2 separate regions of the Homo sapiens genome follow, and region 1 is linked to region 2. The links are contacts of gene promoters, found by promoter capture Hi-C in human tissues and cell types (Jung and others, 2019). All regions are on one chromosome and are shown on one strand. The core of a region is centred on a gene start or on the middle of the fragment in contact, and the rest is flanking DNA. Distances in the headings are between cores, read along the strand shown. Region 1 has its middle 54 kb from the start of GTSCR1. Region 2 holds the start of GTSCR1 (Gilles de la Tourette syndrome chromosome region, candidate 1).

Evidence for each region. The method cuts DNA at HindIII sites, captures the fragments that hold promoters and counts their contacts. A contact is called where the count stands out against the background at its distance.
Region 1: a contact is called between a fragment that was not itself captured here and the fragment with the promoter of GTSCR1 in region 2, in 1 of the 25 tissues and cell types used here (stomach).

The regions. Positions count from the first base shown.
Region 1 is chr18:70,703,302-70,706,702 of GRCh38, forward strand. No RefSeq gene overlaps it. Among named protein-coding and RNA genes, the nearest start is that of GTSCR1, 54 kb to the left of the region's middle. The HindIII fragment of the contact is 7,576 bases long and covers 1-3,401 here.
Region 2 is chr18:70,649,038-70,652,271 of GRCh38, forward strand. It overlaps GTSCR1 (Gilles de la Tourette syndrome chromosome region, candidate 1), which reads right to left and starts at 1,917. Exons shown (of 3, transcript NR_160904.1): 1 at 1,573-1,917. The HindIII fragment of the contact is 9,016 bases long and covers 1-3,234 here.

The DNA.
Region 1 (3,401 bases), core at 604-3,103, 54 kb after region 2:
TCCTCCTCTATCTTTTATAAGGACACATGTCATTGAATTTAGAACCCACCCTAAATTCAGGAAGATCTCATTATGAGATTCTTTATTTTTTAATTAATTAATTTTTTTATTATTACACTTTAAGTTCTAGGGTACACGTGCACAATGTGCAAGTTTGTTACAAATGTATACATGTGCCATGTTGGTGTGCTGCACCCATTAACTCATCATTAGGTATATCTCCTAATGCTATCCCTCCCCCCTCCCCCCACCTCACAACAGGCCCCAGGGTGTGATGTCCCCCTTCCTGTGTCCAAGTGTTCTCATTGTTCAATTCCCACCTATGAGTGAGAACATGTGATGTTTGGTTTTTTGTCCTTGCGATAGTTTGCTGAGAATGATTCTTAACTGAGTCACATTTCCAAAAAACAACCTTTTCCCAAATAACGTCACAATCTGAGGTGCTGTGTACACAGATCTTTTGAGGTCCACCATTTCAACCCACTACAACCACCTCTCCAAAGGCCCAGAACTAGGTAGTGGTATAGTTGCATTAGACTCAGTTTCCAGTACCCAAGTTGAGGACAGCTGAAAATTGCCCTGCACACTGCACCGTAAGATGTGCTCTGGCAAAGGGGAGGAGTGTAGTTGATCTCATATTGGCAAGACCTCAGCTGTGATTCATTTTAATTATTCACTAATATATGTGTTCTGAAATACACTGCTATGATCTGAATGTTGTGCCCCTGTACTCCCATTCATATGTTGAAATCTAATTACAAATGTGATGATATTAAGAGATGGAGCCTTTGGGAAGTAATTAGATTATGAAGCTGGAACCCACATGAATGGGATTAGTTTCCTTGTAAAGGAGGCCTCAGAAAGCTGCCCTGTCCTCTCCAGACACTGAATTTACCTTGATCTTGGACTTCCCACCCTTTAGAGCTGTGAGAAATATATTTCTATTATTTATAAGCCACTCAGTTGATAGTAGTTCATCATAGCAGCCTAAGCAGACTGAGACACACACAGAATTGGAAAAAGAGAAGTGTGTAATGAAAGTTGTTGAGATTCTGTCCTGACTGATGCTCCTAAATCCTTTCTATACTATTTGGCCCAATTATCTTTGTAGATATATTTCCCCCCAGGAAAGAATCAATAGATACTCTGCTCTGTTTCAATTTCTTCCCGTATTACTTATATGTTTTCTTTCTATCTATAAAAAAATAAGATTGGGTTTTCTGAAATATATTTTTTATTCCTGTGAGAATCAGTTTTTCTACACCACAGACACAAATCAGAACTAATTCACAGCAGATGTGAGCATTCATAAGGAGAAGTATGTTTTATATTTCCTGCATGAAAGTATAGTGAAGGTTCAGGACATGCGTGAAGGCCCATTGTGTTGAAGTAAGGGTGTTTCTTCTATGTTCCTCCCCACTTTTCAGGTGAGGAACTAAAGTTCAAATCAATCAGAAAGATAACTGAGCAGATGTGTATCTGGTCAGGGATCTGGGTCCTGATCTCTGTGTTGCCAAAGTATATACTCTTTCCTACATCTTCTTTACATTAATACATCCTGATTTGTTGTAATAACTAGACAGAAGTAGAAATAACAGCACAACGTATATGCAACTGGTGGCAGCAACAATCTATCAGAATGGTCAATAATGATCATATCAGCTTTGGTACAGAGTTGCACCTGTGTACACCTTGGGTTGGAGCCTCAGGGTCAGGAAGGCAACAAAAATGGATCTAGACAGGAGCCATGACAGTCTCTGCAGTAACCAGTCTCAGCTGAGTGTTCACCAGTACACGTGTGAGGAAGGATGGAAAGTTAATCCTGCTGCACAGTTTTTTATATTGGGTTCTTTTCTATGCATTTGCTTACTTAATTGAATATCTATTAAACAAATTGTAACCTTTCTGCAGTTCCATCAATCTTGGTTCTTCTAAATAATCATGTTCCTGGCTTTATAAATACTCAAGCCATAAGAATTTGCTACTAAAAGGGTAGCCTGAAAAGGGGAAGGCAACCAAAATAGGTGTTACTCACCTAGCGCACTGAATGCTTGATAAAGCGCAAAGTTGCAGAAGCAACTATTGTACTAAGGATTTCATTTGTACTTCCTTCTATATTATTTTAAAAAGAATTAGAGACTGTTTTGTTTATCTTGTTAGTCAAAATTACATAAACCTTTAAATTTGCAGTTTGTAAATGCTATGACAAATTCAAATATAAATCTTAGTCTAGTAATAATTCTTTAATGTATTTTTCATAATTCTATTACAAAAAAGAGATAGGTAAAAATAACAAATACTATAATTATGTTGAATTATTACAAAGACTGTTATGTCCTAATACTGCTTATTCTCTTCATATCCAAATTATGTAATAAAATGATTGCGTTCTGTGTTATGAAACTGTGAACTCTTTGAGAACTGTAAACTTAACAAGTTTCCTCAAATAACTTTGACTCTTTCAGACAGGCCCTCCAAGAGCATCTGTTGAATTAATGTTGTAGCAAATGGGAAGGTAAAATGTGCTTGCGTGTGTTAATGACATGTTATTATTGTCTTCCCTGCAGAGAAATTGTAATGAGCAGTTGCACCTATTGGCTGGTGGTTGCTGGAATGCATGCTGCCTGCCCCAAGTCTGGCTGTCTTCTATTTTCATATCTGGACCTCTTTCTGTTTCCTATTGTCTGAGTCTGACCTCTGGTTTTAAAATCAATCCCTGACCACTAGCTCAATATTTCAGATCAAAATAGCTCTGCCAATTGTTCTCTAATCTTATACTTTAGCTCTAAGTCCTTCCTTCCTTCCTTCCTTCCTTCCTTCCTTCCTTCCTTCCTTCCTTCCTTCCTTCCTTCTTTCCTTCCTTCCTTCCATCCATCCATCCATCCATCAGTACATATTAGTTAAGAGGTTACTGGGTGATACTTTGGCTAGATGTTAGAGAAGCAAGACAAATAAAACTTTTCTCATGGAGTTTACAATCGAGTGGGCAAGATCAGATCAGACATTGACTGTGGAACAGTAAGGATAAAGAGTGTTAAAAATGTGGACCTGCAGGATGTTGTGGGAGTGCAACACAGTAGGAGCTTGCCTTACCTGACGTTTCAGGACAGCAATCTCTGGAGAAATGATATTCCAGAAACCTGATGTATGTGTTGGATACAGCCAAAGTAAAGATAAGGGCTAGTGTGTTTTAGCCAGAGTAATGCATGGACAGGCACTGATATTGCCTGGGTATGTTTGACGAACAGAAAATAGACCAGCATGACTGAAGGGCAGAGACCTAGGGGGCTCAGGGATAGGGGGAGTTACTGCTTGTAGAAACGGTTTAGGGCTTGGCAATAAGAAATCTTTGAATAATTTTAAGGTGAGAAGAGGCATGGTCAGTGAGGCAGATGCTGTCT
Region 2 (3,234 bases), core at 667-3,166:
TATTTTGTAACATATTTTTTTCCAGTACAGATGTGAAAAGCTTCACATCTATTATTTAGTACTGCAATGTCAAATAAAGTTAGAGAGAAGTTTCAGAAAAAAAGATAAATTCGTAAAAGGCCATAGTCTCTGTGAGGAAAAGTGACATAGGACATTTCTCCATTGGCAGCAGTTAGGAAATGTAGGAAGAGCGTCAGAGTTTCTGAGTCAGCTTTCAGATGCATGTCCTCACTTTCTCTTCATTATACCCAAATGAAGATCTTGTTTGAACTTTTTTTAAATTATACTTTAAGTTTTAGGGTACATGTGCACAACGTGCAGGTTTGTTACATATGTATTCATGTGCCATGTGGGTGTGCTGCACCCATTAACTCATCATTTAACATTAGGTATATCTCCTAATGCTATCCCTCCCCCCTCCCCCCACCCCACAACATTGCGGCACTATTCACAATAGCAAAGACTTGGAACCAACCCAAATGTCCAACAATGATAGACTGGATTAAGAAAATGTGGCACATATACACCATGGAATACTATGCAGCCATAAAAAATGATGAGTTCATGTCCTTTTTAGGGACATGGATGAAGCTGGAAACCATCATTCTCAGCAAACTATCGCAAGGACACAAAACCAAACACGGCATGTTCTCACTCTTAGGTGGGAATTGAACAATGAGAACACATGGACACAGGAAGGGGAACATCACACACCGGGATCTTGTTTGAAATTTACAGATAGAGAAGCGAAGGCCTTGGAGATACAACGTTCTTCGGAAAGTGGTCAGAGCCTCCTAACATTGCTTCGGGGCTGCGCCCCTCCCCGCTCCCTCCTGTTTTGGCTTCTTGCCAGCCTGGATGTTCCTGGTCCCTGCAATGCTTGCACTTTCCTGAGTCAATACTGTGGAATCTGTTGACCCTTCTTCTTGGAAACTGTTTTCTTCCATTTTTTTTTTTAAGAAAACTGTAAAGTTAATGCATACTCTTGGGAAAAAAGAATTCTAACAGAATTAAAGATTATAATTGAAACATACTTTATACACAGTTTTATATACCATTTTTTCTTAATACTATGAACAAGTTTTCTGTGTCCTTAGAATGGTTGTAAATACCATAGTGGTTACAAGGGGCGTAGCCACATTCTAAGAGTGCATCGCCATTGACTTAATGCTCCACTGTATCCTCTAATTAGGCCACAGCCTTGGCTGACCCATGCTCCTGCCTAAACGTGACCAGTCTGCACCTCAGAAGGCCAGGCTCTCCCCTTGGCTGCCACCTACAGCCAATCTAACCAGCTGTGCACCCGAGTCTCTGTTTTTTTTTTTTTTTTTTTTTTTTTTTTTAATGTTTTCCCCATTACTTCAAGGTTTGGATAAAATAATGTACTATGGTTTGCAGCCTGGCTTCCCAAATAATGAGGCTGGAAGTCACAATCTGAAACTGAGTGAATTAACCCCCTGTTCAGGGAATTGAGTAATAAGGAAAAAAGACCTTGAAAGAGCTAGGAAGATTCATTTCCTCTTCTCCCTTTTTCTGATGAACAAACTGTTTCAGGAAAGAGATCTTGCTTACCTCTGCAGTCTCTCTGAGATGTCCCTCATGGCCACATGAGTGCACCCAGCAAAGGACCCAACTTGGGAAGCTGTGGCCAGGATGGTATATGTCACTTTGCATTGCTTCTCATCCTTCCCTCCGTAGCTGTTTTCCTCACCTTCTTGCCATGAGTTTGCACGTCCTTAAACAAAATAGGAGCCTTTTTAGTCATTGCCTCAGACCAGGCTTTTTAGGGAACCTGAGCTCAGGCAGAGACCTAGATGCAGAGGGAGGTAGAATGTTCCAGGAAGGAGATGCAGAATGTACAAAAGCTTTGTGGGGTGAGGGAGCATGATAGGGTAAAAGCAAAGGAAGGTTGAAATGAAAAAAAAAAAAAAGTAAATGGCAAATGTGAAATGTGATGGAGAAAGGAAGAGGAGGGGCATGTGATGTAAACTAGCTGGGGACAAAACCACAGAAGGTGGTATAGACCCCGGAAGCAGTCTGGTCTTGATTCTAAGAGTAACAGCAATCTACTGTAGGGCTTTAGGGAGGATGGCAGTGGGATGGAGATGGGGTAGCATATTAGTCCATTTTCACACTGCTGTAAAGAACTGCCTGAGACTGGGTCATTTATACAGAAAAGAGATTTAGGTGACTCACAGTTCCGCATGGCTGGTGAGGCCTCAGGAAACTTACAATCATGTCAGAAGGGGAAGGAGGGATGTCTTACGTGGTGGCAGGCGAGAGAGAGCCTATGAAGGAGGAACAGTCAAACACTTATAAACCATCAGATCTCATGAGAACTCACTCACTGTCATGAGAACAGCATGGGGGAAACTGTTTACATGATCCAGTCACCTCCTTCCCTTGAGATTTGGGGATTACAGGTCCCTTCCTCAACACATGGGGGTTACAATTCGAGATGGGATTTGGGTGGGGACACAGAGCCAAACCATGGGGGTTACAATTCGAGATGGGATTTGGGTAGTGACACTGGATTTGAATTTTGAAAGGGACACTCTGGTTATGCAGGGCAGAATAGATCGTCTGAAGGAGGTTTGCAGTGTGGATATTGCTTGATCAGTTAGCAAGTGATGGCATATTACTGGAGAAAGATGACATTAGCTTGGACTACTGTGGGAATAATGGAAATGGAGAAAAATGAGAGATATTTGGGAAGTAAAATGGATAAGATCGATAAAGGTTGGATATGTAACCTGGGGCAGTGGAGGAGTCTTAGATAATTCCTAGGTCTCTATATTGAGCTATTTATTGGATGCTGGTGGCATTCACAGAGGTCAAACATTTGTGGCTGAGGTCAAACATTTGTGATGTACCCGGTATAACTGCTCCCTGAAGTTCCCTGAAGCTGAGAGAGTGAACAGATGGTAAGGAGAGGCAAGCTGGCCTTGCCTTCCTGGATTTTATGTTTTCAAATGACTGAGAGTACTGTATGGATTGGACATGTGACTAAAAGAATTCCCTGCCCTTCCCCACCTTGCAACCCCCTTCCCCAGATCTGAAGTTGAATTATACACTAATGAGCACATGTCTGGCCCAAATTAGGTCTAGAATGCATGTGTCTAATGTGGGCCTTCTAATATTCAGTCTTCCCTGTATATTAGTGAGCTATTTCATTTTTCAAATAATTGGAGTCATGTTGTAGTTCTTCCAGGGAAATTCCAATCACCAGGGCTA